Regions from separate parts of the Homo sapiens genome. Here region 1 is linked to region 2. Evidence: promoter capture Hi-C in human tissues and cell types (Jung and others, 2019). All regions are on one chromosome and are shown on one strand. Each heading gives the region's core, a stretch centred on a gene start or on the middle of the fragment in contact. The rest is flanking DNA. Distances are from core to core; before and after follow the strand shown. Region 1 has its middle 390 kb from the start of OCA2. Region 2 holds the start of GABRG3 (gamma-aminobutyric acid type A receptor subunit gamma3).

Region 1 (6,283 bases), core at 486-2,985, 740 kb before region 2:
GTGGAATTCTTAAAAAGTATAGAAAATTTAAATGTGATTAAATGTGATTCTAAAAGCAATAAACGAGATTTTTTGAAGAGACTGGATGTGAGCAATTGAAAAAAATTGTTTATCACTGCTTACTGGGTTATCTGTATTCTCGTGAACCTGTGACATCCAGAGGTGGCAAAGCCATGTCCATACTGTTGTTTTCAGTCTCCATAGCACACAGCACATTGCCTGGCATGCAGCAGGCACACAATAATGTGCTAGATGAGTGGATGAAAGAGGAGAACAGAAAGTACATTTTTGTGTCTTTATCAGGGAGACAATCATCATTGTGTGGCCATGAATTTTAAGCATTAGTAAGTCTAAGAAGGAAAAATATCTGTGCTTAAGCTTTTATTTTATAGCAATGGTGACAGGTTTTATATTTAAACATATATAGTACAAGCAGTTGCCCAAAAGTTTGATTGCTTGTCCTACTGAAAATATGTGCATTATTTTTTTTATTGCTGCCTGAATTTTAGTGGCTTATACAATGCAAATTTGTTTTCTTAAAGTTAACGTGGATTAGAAGTCCAACACTGGCTGCTCCAGGCTAAAACCAAGGTGTTGACAGAGCTGCCTTCCTTTCGGGAGATCTAGGGAAGAATCCATTTCCTTGCTTATTCAGGTTGCTAGCAAAATTCAGATTCCTGTGGTTGTAGGGTTTAGATTCAAGTTTGCATGTTGACTGAGAGTTGGGGCCATTGCCAGCTTTAAAGGTTCCCTGCTTTCCTTGGCTCATGGCCCCTCCTCCATCTTTATAGCCAGCACCAGCAGGCTGCCTCCTCTTCCCCGTTACATCTTACCTTGACCACTGCTGAGAAAGACTCTCGCCTTCTAAGGACACATATGATTAATTGGGCCCACAAAAAAATCCTGGGCCAGGATTTTATATCCTGGATATAAAATCCAGGATAATATCTCCTCCTCAAATCTTTAATCACATCTGAAAATCCTTTTTGCTGCGTAAGGTAACATATTCACAAAGCCCAAGGAGGAAGTCATGGACTCCTCTGAAGGACTATTGTGACTACTGCAGTCTGTCCGCTAGCCTCCAAATAGTCACACCTGTCCCAGTTGCAAATATACATCCACCCAGTCCCAAGGTTCCCTGAAGTCTTATCCAATTAAAAAATCAACTCAAAATCTAAAAATATTGTTTAAATATCATCAGCTCAAAAGTCTCAGGTATCATTATCTAAATTGTCTAAATTAAGTATGGGTAAGGATCTGGTATGATCCATCTTAGGACAAAATTTCTTTTTATCTGTGAAACTGTTAAACTACAGAAATAAGTTATCTGCTCCCCAAATACAGTAGGATAAGGGTTATAGACATTGTTATTCAAAGAGGGAGGAAATGGAAGAAATAAAGAAGTCATTGGGTTCAAATCCAGCCAAGGAAAACTCCATTATGTGTCAAGGCTTAGAAATAACCCTGTGTTCCTCAAGCTCCACCTTTTGAGCCTCTGACTCCACTCTCTACACTCTGAGATCTCCCGTTTGAGTTAATCTTTCTTAATGAAAGGTAACTTACACTCTCAGCTGAGTAATTTTATCATCCAGTTTCTTGCCTGTGGAATCTGGAGAGTCCAAGTTATTCTCTCATGTTCAACAGCTTTCTTTTCTTTTGTACTCTCCCCAACCCTTTCAGTCCAAGCTGGCACTGTTTCTGCTGATAAAAAATTCTCAGGAACCGTGTGTGTCTTTTGTGTATATCATGGTGATTCACTCCATTAGACAAGTGGCGTGTCCACAAATCTTTTCTAGATAATTTCATCTCAATTTTTGGTTTTTGTCAAGATGGCCAAGGGACGATGTTGTTACATTTCCTAGATGCTCTGTAGCTTGATTTGGGGGGTCTGTGAGTCCTACCCTTAATGTTTTCAAAGATCCTTTGTGTAACTGAAAACTGACTTTTTGATCATTCAAAGGGGTTTACTTTAAGCCATTTCTCTAGAGTATGCTTTCCTGATAGTAAATCTTTTAATTTTAATGCGTCTCACTGTTCAGACATGCTGAGAATTTCCCACACCATCAAGTTCTAGTTCCTTTTTGTTTAATAGCTCTTCCTTCAATTTATCTGTTTCATCTTGCCTTTTACTATAAGCAGCTAGAAAAAAAACAGAACACATCTTTAACATTTTGCCTGAAAATCTCTCTTCTAAATATCTAATTTTATTGTTTACAGGTTCTTCTTGTCACAAAACTGTGACATAATTCAGCTAGGCTTTTTTCCACTTATAAGAAGCATTACCTCTCCTCCAATTTCCAATATATATTCTTTACTTCCTTCTGAGCTCTTAACACCAGCACCTTTAATGTCCATTTTTTCTATCAATGGTCTGTTCATGCAGATTTAGGTATTCTCTAAGGTGATTTACTTTTTTTCTATAATGCTCCTCACTTTCTTCTTAGCCTTCATTGGAAGTATTTAACATTCATGAATAGTTTGTTTAAGACAACGGAGGCTTTTTCTATTATGCTCCTCAAAATTCTTCTCACCTCTGACCAATATCCAATTTTAAATCCACTTCTGTATAGTTAGGTGTTTGTTACAGGTGCATTCCATTTCCAGGTACCATTTCCAGGTACCAATAGCCTGTATGAATCTTCTATTGCTGCCTTGAAAAATAACCACAAACTAAATGGCTTAAAATAACACAAATTCATTATCTCTCAGTTCTGTGGTCAAAAGTCCAATACTGGTCATATCAAGCTAAAATCAGTGTGTTGGCAGGGTTGCATTCCTTTCTGGAGGCTCAAAAGAAAGATGTGATTTTTGATTTTTTTTTTCTTGGCAGAATTTAGTTGCCTGAAGTTGTAGGACTGAGATACCTCTTTTCTTGTTAGCTGTGAGTTGAGGGTCATTCCCCATTTCCAAAGGCTTCATGTGATTAGATTAGGCCCATCCAGGACAATCCAGAAAAATTTTCTTCATATAAAAGCCTGTAATCTTAATCACAAGAGCAAATCCCTTTGCCAGGTAACATATTCACAGGTTCTGGGTATTGGGGCATGAACATCTTTAAGTGGCCATTATTCTGCCAACCACAATGCAGTAGGTAAACAGTAGGCATCACTTCTGGAGTCATGTTAGCAAAAATGGCAGAGTGGGTAGCTCTAAGGCTAGCTAGACCCTTCACAGAAATGCTGAAATAATGAGAAAATCTGTGAGGATCTACTTTATCCGAATTCTAGAAAATGGTCAAAGATTTACACCAGCCAAGTTTGTTTTATTTTCTTTTTTTGAGGCAATATAAAAACAGTAGGAGAGATTTGTGGCATTTTTATTTTCCCTTGTTTTACCTCCCTCCCTAGCTGGTCATTGCTCTTGAAGATGGAAGCCCATGTTTTGACTGTGGGACTCTAGTCATTGGTTTCAGAGGAAACAGAGAAGAACTTTTCTCAAAGAATTATCTTTGTCTGTTTTGATCTGTCTGGGTGTTACCTGAAGGAATGATGCAATGTGCTTGTCTTCGTTTCGCTTAACTTGGAACTCTCTAAGAGCAGAAAAGTGGCTATGCTGAGAGCATTCCTCAGGAACATTGAAAGGCAAGTGAGCCACCTTCTAGTGACTTGGGAAAATACTACATTTCAGGCAAACAAAAGACATACCAAAATCCTGGGATGAAAAGCTTAAAAGAGAGATTCTTTGGCAGATTAGAGTATTGAAAAGCACCTATGTATTCCAGGGTATTTAGAAAGCCACAGCATGCCCAGGGAAGGAAATAAGCTCAGAAAAGACTCAAGAAGACTCTAAACCTCTACTTCTGGCTAACCTTTAAGGCTGGTGTCAGCAGGTAGTGAAGGCTAACACAGAATTGTAAATGGCTGGGCTCAGCACTGAAGGAGTGTCCAATAAAGGGCCATTCTGCAAACACTGTGAGAGGTTTCTTGTTTTTGCATTTTGTTTTCTGGCTTTAGGCATTCAAAGAATCTCTGTCAAAAACACTAGCTGACTGCAAGCTAGAGGAACAGAGACATCAGAGACCACAAATGGCAAAGAATACAGTCTTTATGTATTAGTCCATTTTCCCACTGCTATAAAGAACTACCTGAGACTGGGTAATTTATAAAGAAAAAGGTTTAATTGACTCACAGTTCCACATGGCTGGTCCCTGTCCCTCCCTCAACATGTGGAGATTATAATTCGAGATGAGATTTGGGTGGGGACACAGAGCCAAACCATATCACTTTATAAAAATAGTTTAGAAAAGTTATCAAACAATTATAACCCAAAACAAGCAACAAAAACAAACCCTGAGGAGGGGGAAGAAACTTATTTCCTGAGTTACCGTATTATAATATTTAAAAAGTCCAGTTTTCAACAAAAAGTATGAAGCATACAAGGAAACAGGAAATCATGCTCTATTTAGGGGAAACATTAAAAGAAATTGTTGTGAGGAAACACAGACATTGGACTTACTAGAAATAAACTTTAAATCAACTGTCTTAAATGCTGAAAGAGCTAAGAAAATCATGGACAAATAGTAAAGGAAATAAAGAGACTAATGTCTCAATAGATAGATAGAAACTGTCAATAAAGACAAGTGGTAAAAAAAGAACCAGTCAGAAATTCTGGAGCTCAAAAGCCCCATAACTGAAATGAAAATTCACTGCATACAGGTAATGGGAGTATCAGGAGAAGAGAAAGAATTGTGAAGAAAGAATATTGGAAGAAATAATGCTCAAAATTTCCAAACTTGATAAAAGACATGCATTTAAACATCCAAGAAGCTCAACAAACTCCAAGAATGATAAAGAGATCCATAACTGGGTATTTTATAGTTCTGTCAAAAGCAAAAGACAAAGAGAATCTTGAATGTCACATGAGAGAAATGACCAGTTACATACAAGGGATCCTCAATAACATTAACAGAAAAAAACATGGAGGCCAGATGGCAGTGTGGTGATATTATTTAAAGCATTGAGAGGAAAAAATAATCTATCAACTAAGAATGTTATATCTAGCAAAAGTATACCTCAAAAGTGAAGGAGAACTTAATACTATCCCAGAAAAACAAAACCTGAGGGAACTTGTTGCTAGTGGACCTGCCTTATAAGAAATGCTACAAGGAGTACTTGAGGTGTAAAAGAAAGGCTGCTAGTTATTAGATGCTTGAGTTACTACACAGTAACTCAAATCTATACAAAGAAATAAAAAAGTCTGGTAAAGGTCATTACATAGATAAATATAAAAGCTAACATTATTCTGGATTGTAGCTCCTCTTTGTTTCCTGTATGATTTAAAGGACACATTTATAAAACAATAATTATAAATCTTTGCTAATGGGCACACAATGTATAAAGATGTAATTTGTGACAATGACAACATAAAGGGAAAGGCTGAAGCTGGGTAGGAGCAGATGGGCTGACAGGTGCTGAAGGCTTATATTTAATGAGATTTAGTACAAAACTCTGAAGCTTTCCAGACTCACAGGGGTGATATTTTGATGAAGTAACAGGAGAGAGAGGGTGTTTGGCATCTCCTTTAGAAGTTATAGCTTATGACACTGTCAAGGCAAAAATTGTACCTGACAAAGTTATAAAGGCAAGAACTAATGTATTCAGATTATTGCAGTGGGAATTGTTCAACCCCACTGAAACAACAGACAGGAGGGTTTGTAAGTGGACGACACTACTAGGGGAAGGTTGATCAGTGGGATGAAGCCTGCACACTGAGTGCTGTCTTGGGTAATATGTAATATCTTAATCTCATTCAGAAATGTCTTGGGCAGAGTCCTGTAACAATGAAGGTAGTGGAGCCTGGTCCACTCTGGCCATGGGTCAGGCTGGCAAAGGCTAAGAAGTGGTTGTGGGTGCCACCTGGGGCAGGAGGTGGGGTGGAGAGTGCCCCAGATTCCCACGCTGGGCTGGTGGCCATGCTGAGGAGCTGGGGCTGGCCTGGGCAGAGGATGACTGGGACCTCCTTAGTCTTGAGCAGCCCCTCTGCCACTTTGAAGAACTTTGCAGTCTTTCTCCTTAGAGTCTGCATTTCCGGAAGTTTAAGGGCTGCCCAGAAAGTCTCCTTGCACCCAGCAATAAGCTGGCAGAGCTGTTCAAGCAGAGAACCAGGCAGGGGAGCAAAAGTGGCTTCTCTGCTCTTTGGAAGCACTGGCAGCACAGCTGTGCCCTGCAGAAGAAGATGAAGAATCTCAGACACATAAACCTTCATTGCCGTGGCAGAGGATGAATCTGAAAGAGGAAGGTGGAGTGCGGGTCACATTTACTCTGGCTGGCCCTAACCCTCCCTC
Region 2 (6,812 bases), core at 800-3,299:
AGGCTGAGGTATCTTCCTACTAAGCACATGCAGTAGTGAGGACAATAGGCAGTGTTTCTTCTAGAATGTTAAGAATCCAGAGACCTAAACAGTTGATTACTGAACCCTGAACGGCTGGTCACTCGTTTGAGTTGGTGGCAATAGAAAGGTGGCAGAGATGTGACTGCCGGCCTCAGCGTTATGCCCGGTGCTGTCTGCCTCCCTCTCCATCTCTAAACAGAGATACAACCAGGAAGAAGCAACCTCAGAAAGCATGTTTCCATTGCTTGCACCAGCTGCCTCTTGAGACAGAAAGAAACTTCAGCTGAAAGGCCCAAGGAGTGCTCTGTCTCTTTGAAAGAGTTGCCTGTGAGTCACCGGTGGAGTCGGCTTCCACACTCAACTCAGCAAAGAGGAGCAGTTGCAAGGGGGAGGGCCAGGGCTTCCTTCCTCAGGGTAAGCACCCCTGCCCAATTCAGGAGTGAGAACTGGGGGCCCCCTTCATGTTTAGTAGGATTTATTCATGTGTCTTCCTAGCTCCTTGGTAGTTCACAAATAGGAATGAAAAGGCAAGGCCTCCTGGCATTGCCTCCTGATGGTGGCCAGGCTTGTGCACGCAAGGATGCCCTCTGATTCTCTAGCTCCCAGACCCAGGAAATGGAGAAGCGTCAAAACAAGAGGGTTTGGGGGATAGGGGCACGCTGAGCTTCCTAGGGTGGGGAAAGAGGTAAAGGCCAGACACTGCTCCAATTTTCAAATAACAGGACAGTCTGCAAGCTCTAGCCAGAAATCCAGCCAGAGAGACAGAATTAAAGAAACTAAACCCAGAATCTCCAGTTGTGTTTACAGCAACAGGATTTAACCCTTTGGGTCCCACTGTCCTTGTATCCTCATGCGCCCTCTTCATCTCTTCTAGAGTGATTCTAAGCTCCCATTAGCCGGTTGGTGTACTGGGAGGAAGGTTGCGGAATTTATGGTGAGATGATTTCTTACATTACCAGGCAGAAGCCTTATTATCCATTTCGACATGCGTGCTTTATGGGGGTGGGAGTGCGTGTGTTCCTCTGTGTGAAAGTGGCTGATGTGGAAGGTGTGTGTGTGTGTTTGCAGGACCTGGGAGGGGAGTCCTCCCAGACAAGCAGGGCTTTCTTCTGCCCACCTGGTTCCAATCCCCCCGCGCCTGCCTCCAATGCATTAGCTCTTTCCAGCCCGGTCTAAACTAGGCAGTTAGAACCACGGTTCCCGGGTTCTTGGAAATTTCAGAGTGATGGAAATGACAGAGAATGTCAGCCAAAGTGTGTGTGTGTGTGAGCCCCTGAAACAGCTGAGGTGGGAATTAGGGGTCGGTAAGGAGCCAGAAATGGCCCCTGCCCCCTGAACCTGGTTCTCAAAACCCCTTAAAACCACCAGATCCTAAAAGCGTCAGGAGACGAGCCCATTAATCTGAGTCCCCACACTCCCGGCTGCAGAGGAAAAAGCAGATGACCGTGTCCAAGGGAGCTGGGACAGGTGAGGTGCAGACCGACTTCCCAGTCCCCTCCCGGCCCGCCGTGCCGCAGCCCAGCCGACGGCTGGCGCGCCAGGGACTCCAGCAGACAGCGCCCCCCGCCGCCCTGTCGCCCAGCTCGGGGCCTCCGGGGATGCGGCCCCCGCGCCACTTACCGCGCGTGCAAGCCCGAGAACAGGCAGAGGAGGAGCAGCAGCTTCGGGGCCATGGTGCCGTGGAGCTCGGGGCGCAGGGTCCGGGGCCTCGGCCGGGCGCGGCTTCCTCCGGCGCGGACCTGGTCTCCGCCGGCCCTCTTTGCCCTGGCTTCCTCCGAGGCTGCTGGCCGCGGCGGGCGGGACAGGTATCTACTCTGGCGCTGGCCGCGCCCCCGCGGGGCGCACACTGGACGCACACGGGACGCCGGGCCACCGCGGCGCGCCGCCCCCACCCGCGCACTAGCGCCGGTCCGCGCAACCGGGCGGCGGGAGCAATGGGCGCCGGGGACCCCCTGGCGCGGCGCCGCCCACCCCGCCTGGAGCCGCGAGCGGGCGCGGGTGCCCAGGCCGGGGCTGTGTGCGCTGTGCTGGGAGGTGGGGGCAGCTGGGCGGCTGTCCCCTGGCAGCGCCTCCGAGGCGGTCCCGGCGGGGAGGAGTTTCCCCAATTACACGCCTGACAACGCGCAGGGCGAGGAAGGCGAGGTTTGAATGGACTCGGAGTTTGAGGCCAGGAAGGGGGCGGAGCTCCGAGGGGGAGGGGAGGCTGGGGATCCCGCAGGGAGCCTGAAGAAAGGTCCCCGGGGTTGGCACCATGAGAGCGAGCCCGCGGTCCGCCTTCCTCCAGCCATTTCTACCCCAGTGCAGGTTTCCTCCAGCGCTCCCTGACCTCCCGTGCCCGCCGTCGCCCGGGGTTGAGACGGTTTGCCAAAAGCAGCCCTTCCATCGCACTCTTCGTGCTAAGTCGGCTGAACTCCTAGGCACTGATAAGATTCTGTGCTTGGAAAGGTGGCTTTCTGCGGGAATATTTGGGAAAAAAGCACCCCAGATTTATGCCTTTCTTACAGAAAAGAGAGACTAACACATAGCAATAAACAGTAGAGGTGGAAAGGCATGTTAAAGGTAGGAGCTAGAAAGATCCTAAGGCAAGAAGCCAAAGACGTTCCGTTTGGTGGAAGCATGAGGTGCGCCTCATTCCATGTATTTTCATATTCCAAAAACCGAAAATGGCATTTACGCTTTCATTTGTCATAATCATTCAGAAAGTTAGTCTTGCACCATGTAAGTATTGCAATCGCAACAGTGTAGTAAATCCACTAGGAATTTTACATTTCTATCACCCCCAAAAAGTTCTTAGAAAATGTTTTATAACTGCTATTCATAGAATTATGTAAGGGTGTGATAACTGTTTCTTTAATATTGTCAAATAGCTTTGTTCGGCCAGGCACAGTGGCCCAAGCCGGTAACCCCGGCACTTTGGGAGTCCGAGGCAGGCGGATCACTTGACCCCAGGAGTTCGAGACCAGCCTAGGCAATGTGCAAAAACCCTGTCTCTACAAAAAATAGTAAAGAATTAGCTGGGCATGGTGGCATGGGCCTGTATTCCTCTGGTGTGTTCCCCCTTGTTTCTGGATAGGCATGAAGTGGAGGGGAGTGCAGTTGTTAATGACAATATTGTTTTTCAACAATGGAGCTGTCATCTCCCTGGCATCACCTTTCTGTCTCTGTGAGGTGCTGAACTCACCCAGCTCCCCGCCTTTCCAGGACTCTTTCTGGCATTCTCATCCTCCTCTGCCCAGCACATCCCTCCTACTTAGGTGCACATGCCCTATAAGGTCCCCTCTTTGATGAAGACTCTGACGCTCCTGCATTCTTCCACTTCCAACACCTGTACCACTCCTTTAGGCTTCAGGGGAATATGAGCCTTTATCATACTCTGCCCTAATCTCTAATTTTCTGTACCAAAATCTGAGCACTTTAAAAATCAGTTAGATGATGATTTATTGTTCCTTCATTGCTTATGTCGTCTCCACATAAGAGACTTGAGTCTCACTCTATCGCCCAGGCTGGAGTGCAGTAGTGTCATCTGGACTCACTGCAATCTCCACCTCCCGGGTTCAAGTGATTCTCGTGCCTCATCCTCCTGAGTAGCTGGGATTACAGGCACCCACCACCACGCCTGGCTAATTTTTGTATTTTTAGTAAAGATGGGGTTTCACCATGTTGGCCAGGCTCTTCTGCAACTCCTGACTTCAAGTAATCTGCTCGCCTCGGCCTCCCAAAGTGCTGAGATTACAGGCATGAGCCACCACGCCTGAGTGTGCTGCAAGAATGCTGCAAGTAGAAACAATTCTTTTGTGTTTCCCTTCTTAACACAGTAATAGGAACATAAGTAAAAATAACCATCTGACATTGATCACATAACAGGGGCCAGGGCCGACAGGAAGGCTTTACATTGATTAACTCATTTTAACTCTCACAACATTATTTCCGTTTCGCATATAGAGAAAAAGCACAGAGAAGTTAAGTCGCTTACCCCAGGATCACACAGCTAGTAGGTGAGGACTGGGGGTTAAAAGCCAGGCAGCTGGCTCCAATGTTTCATTCCTAATCACTATACCATACTGTCTGCCTGAGTAGGTGCTCAGCTGACATTTGTTGTTGGGCTAGTTGATGAAAGTTTTGGACTTCTTACCATATTATTTATTTTTTGAGCATGAGTTAAAATACTCACAAGTTGTTTATAATAGAAATAGACTGTTACTTGAGTGATTTTGTAAAATATCAGTAAACAAGAAGTGTCCTGAGATTTGTTTGTTGTTATTATTTTTTTTACAATTCAATCAGTGAACAAGAAAACGCAATACTGTTTTTACATCCCTGTGTTCTTTATTCTTTTCCTTTCTTGCATATTTCAACGTGCTATTATGAATGAATGCAAGATGATCCCCTCTGGCCTTTGGAATGCTTCGCTTCATTTATTAGATTGAGTAGGTCAACTTGATACGTCTGAACATTTTCTCTTGGAAAGCCCCTCCCCTCTTCCTGGAACGAGATTTTGTTTTTTAAAGCTAAATGAGCTGAAAGGTTGGGGAAAAATCAAAGCAAGCTTTCTAGGCGTTAAGTGTGAAAGCAAAATGCAAGGTTAAGAATCTTCAAAGGGGCCGGGCGCGGTGGCTCACGCCTGTAATCCCAGCACTTTGGGAGGCCGAGGCGGGTGGATCATGAGGTCAGGAGATCGAGACCATCCTGGCTAACAAGGTGAAACCCCGTCTCTACTAAAAATACAAAAAATTAGCCGGGCGCGGTGGCGGGCGCCTGTAGTCCCAGCTACTCGGGAGGCTGAGGCAGGAGAATGGCGTGAACCCGGGAAGCGGAGCTTGCAGTGAGCCGAGATTGCGCCACTGCAGTCCGCAGTCCAGCCTGGGCGACAGAGCGAGACTCCGTCTCAAAAAAAAAAAAAAAAAAAAAAAAAGAATCTTCAAAGGAGAAGCCACAGGCTTTCATGTCTCTCCCTTGCCCCGGTTGACCTGCGGGGATGCTCTGCGGAGCATGCGCAGTGCGCACTCTCCAAGCCGCCTCAGCCTCTCCATTTTCAGCCCTGGAGAAGCGGGCGGGATTTACACTTTCTCCCCCTAGCTCGCGGGAATAGAAAGGGAAATAAAAAGTAAGTGAAAGCGAGCGCCACCAGAAGACTGGCTCTTAGTCCTAAGAGGTTAGGGTAACGAATCGGTTCTCACAACCGAAGCGCAGACGTGGCGGTAATGACGGAACAGCTCCAGCCTGGCGCGCTGCTTTGCTCCTGGCTTGGCGCTGGGTCCTCGGCTCCGGAGGTTCTGGGGAAGACCTGGGCTGCCCGCGCAGCTGCGGGTTGGACTTCACCTCGGCGGGGGCGGCGGGACCCTAGCAGCGTTGCCAGGAAGCGCCTTTCAGATCCCGCGGTGGCGCGCTGCGCCCCGCAGGCCGCGGAACCACCCCGCTGCCCACGCGCCCTTCAGCGCGCATCCGCTGCTCCGTGGTTGCCCCAGGTTCTGCTTTGAGAAACATCTCTCCCACTCCCAAAACTGTACTTCTGGGTTACATGATGTTTCGTGGTTTTATATTTTGAAAAAGCGCCTTTCCCTTGTCAATCAAAACGGTACTATCAAGGGATAATGCACACACAACAAAAATGCACCGATCTTAAAAGTATGGCTCAGTGAACTATTTCGCATGTGTATACCATATGTATATGAATAGCATATGTATAGCATCTGGATTATTATATATAACAAATATATAATTATGTAATTCCCAGTGGCTGGGCCATCTTCAAGTCAGTGCCGACACTGGGTAACCAACTATTCAGGCTTTGGCCACAGAAGCCTGGTTTTGCCCAGTCTTGCACCTCGCATACATGTGGTCATGCAGTATTATCCACTTAGCCTCCGGCTTCTCTCACTCAGTGCAGTGTCTGTGAGATGTACCCTTATTGCTACATTACCAGTCATTCATTACTTTTTACTGCTGTGCATGATAGTTCATTGTGTGAATACACCACACGTTATTTATTTGTTCCTATGCCAATGGATTTTTGGGTTTGAAACTTTGGGATGTTATGAATAAAGCTAACATGAATATTCTTGTCTTTTGATGGACATATGTGTTCATTTCTCTTGGTTATCTGACTGAAAATAGAATGTCCAGATCACAAGGAAGGCATGTGTTTCATGATTATAAATATTACTACAGAGATTTCTAAAGCAGTTATATTCATCACGCATTGGCAATATATGAGTTCTGGTGTATACCCTTGATGAAATGTGGCCTTGCCATTATTTTTGTCACCATTCTGATATTTCTTTTTTTTTTTTTTCTATTAGACGGAGTCTCGCTCTGTCACCAGGCTGGAGTGCAGTGGCGCGATCCCGGCTCACTGCAACCTCTGCCTCCCGGGTTCGAGCAATCCTCCTGCCTCAGCCTCCCGAGTAGCTGTGACTACAGGCGCACATCACCACACCCAGCTAATTTTTTTGTATTTTTAATAGAGACGGGGTTTCATCATATTGGCCAGGATGGTCTTGATCTCTTGACCTCCGTGATCCACCACCTCGGCCCTCCCAAAGTGCTGGGATTACAGGCATGAGCCACCGCGCCTGGCCTGCCATTCTGGTATTTCATTCTGGTTTTGATTTCATAGAACTTCTTTCAAATTTTTACCAGCCATTGGAATATCTTCTTTTATGAAGTGTCATTTAAGTCTTTTGCCCATTTTAAAACTAGACTGTTGGCTTTCTTTTTATTTGTAGAAGCTCTTTTGTGTTTTCATATTTTTTTGTTTACCATTACATCTATTGCTTTAATAAATACCACCA

Evidence for each region. The method cuts DNA at HindIII sites, captures the fragments that hold promoters and counts their contacts. A contact is called where the count stands out against the background at its distance.
Region 1: a fragment that was not itself captured here is called in contact with the fragment with the promoter of GABRG3 in region 2 in 1 of the 25 tissues and cell types used here (dorsolateral prefrontal cortex).

What each region holds. Positions count from the first base shown.
Region 1 is chr15:27,707,444-27,713,726 of GRCh38, reverse strand. No RefSeq gene overlaps it. Among named protein-coding and RNA genes, the nearest start is that of OCA2, 390 kb to the left of the region's middle. RefSeq lists an enhancer at 1-24. The HindIII fragment of the contact is 5,648 bases long and covers 1-4,559 here.
Region 2 is chr15:26,966,418-26,973,229 of GRCh38, reverse strand. It overlaps GABRG3 (gamma-aminobutyric acid type A receptor subunit gamma3), which reads right to left and starts at 2,049. Exons shown (of 10, transcript NM_033223.5): 1 at 1,642-2,049. The coding sequence starts at 1,694. The HindIII fragment of the contact is 15,270 bases long and covers 1-6,812 here.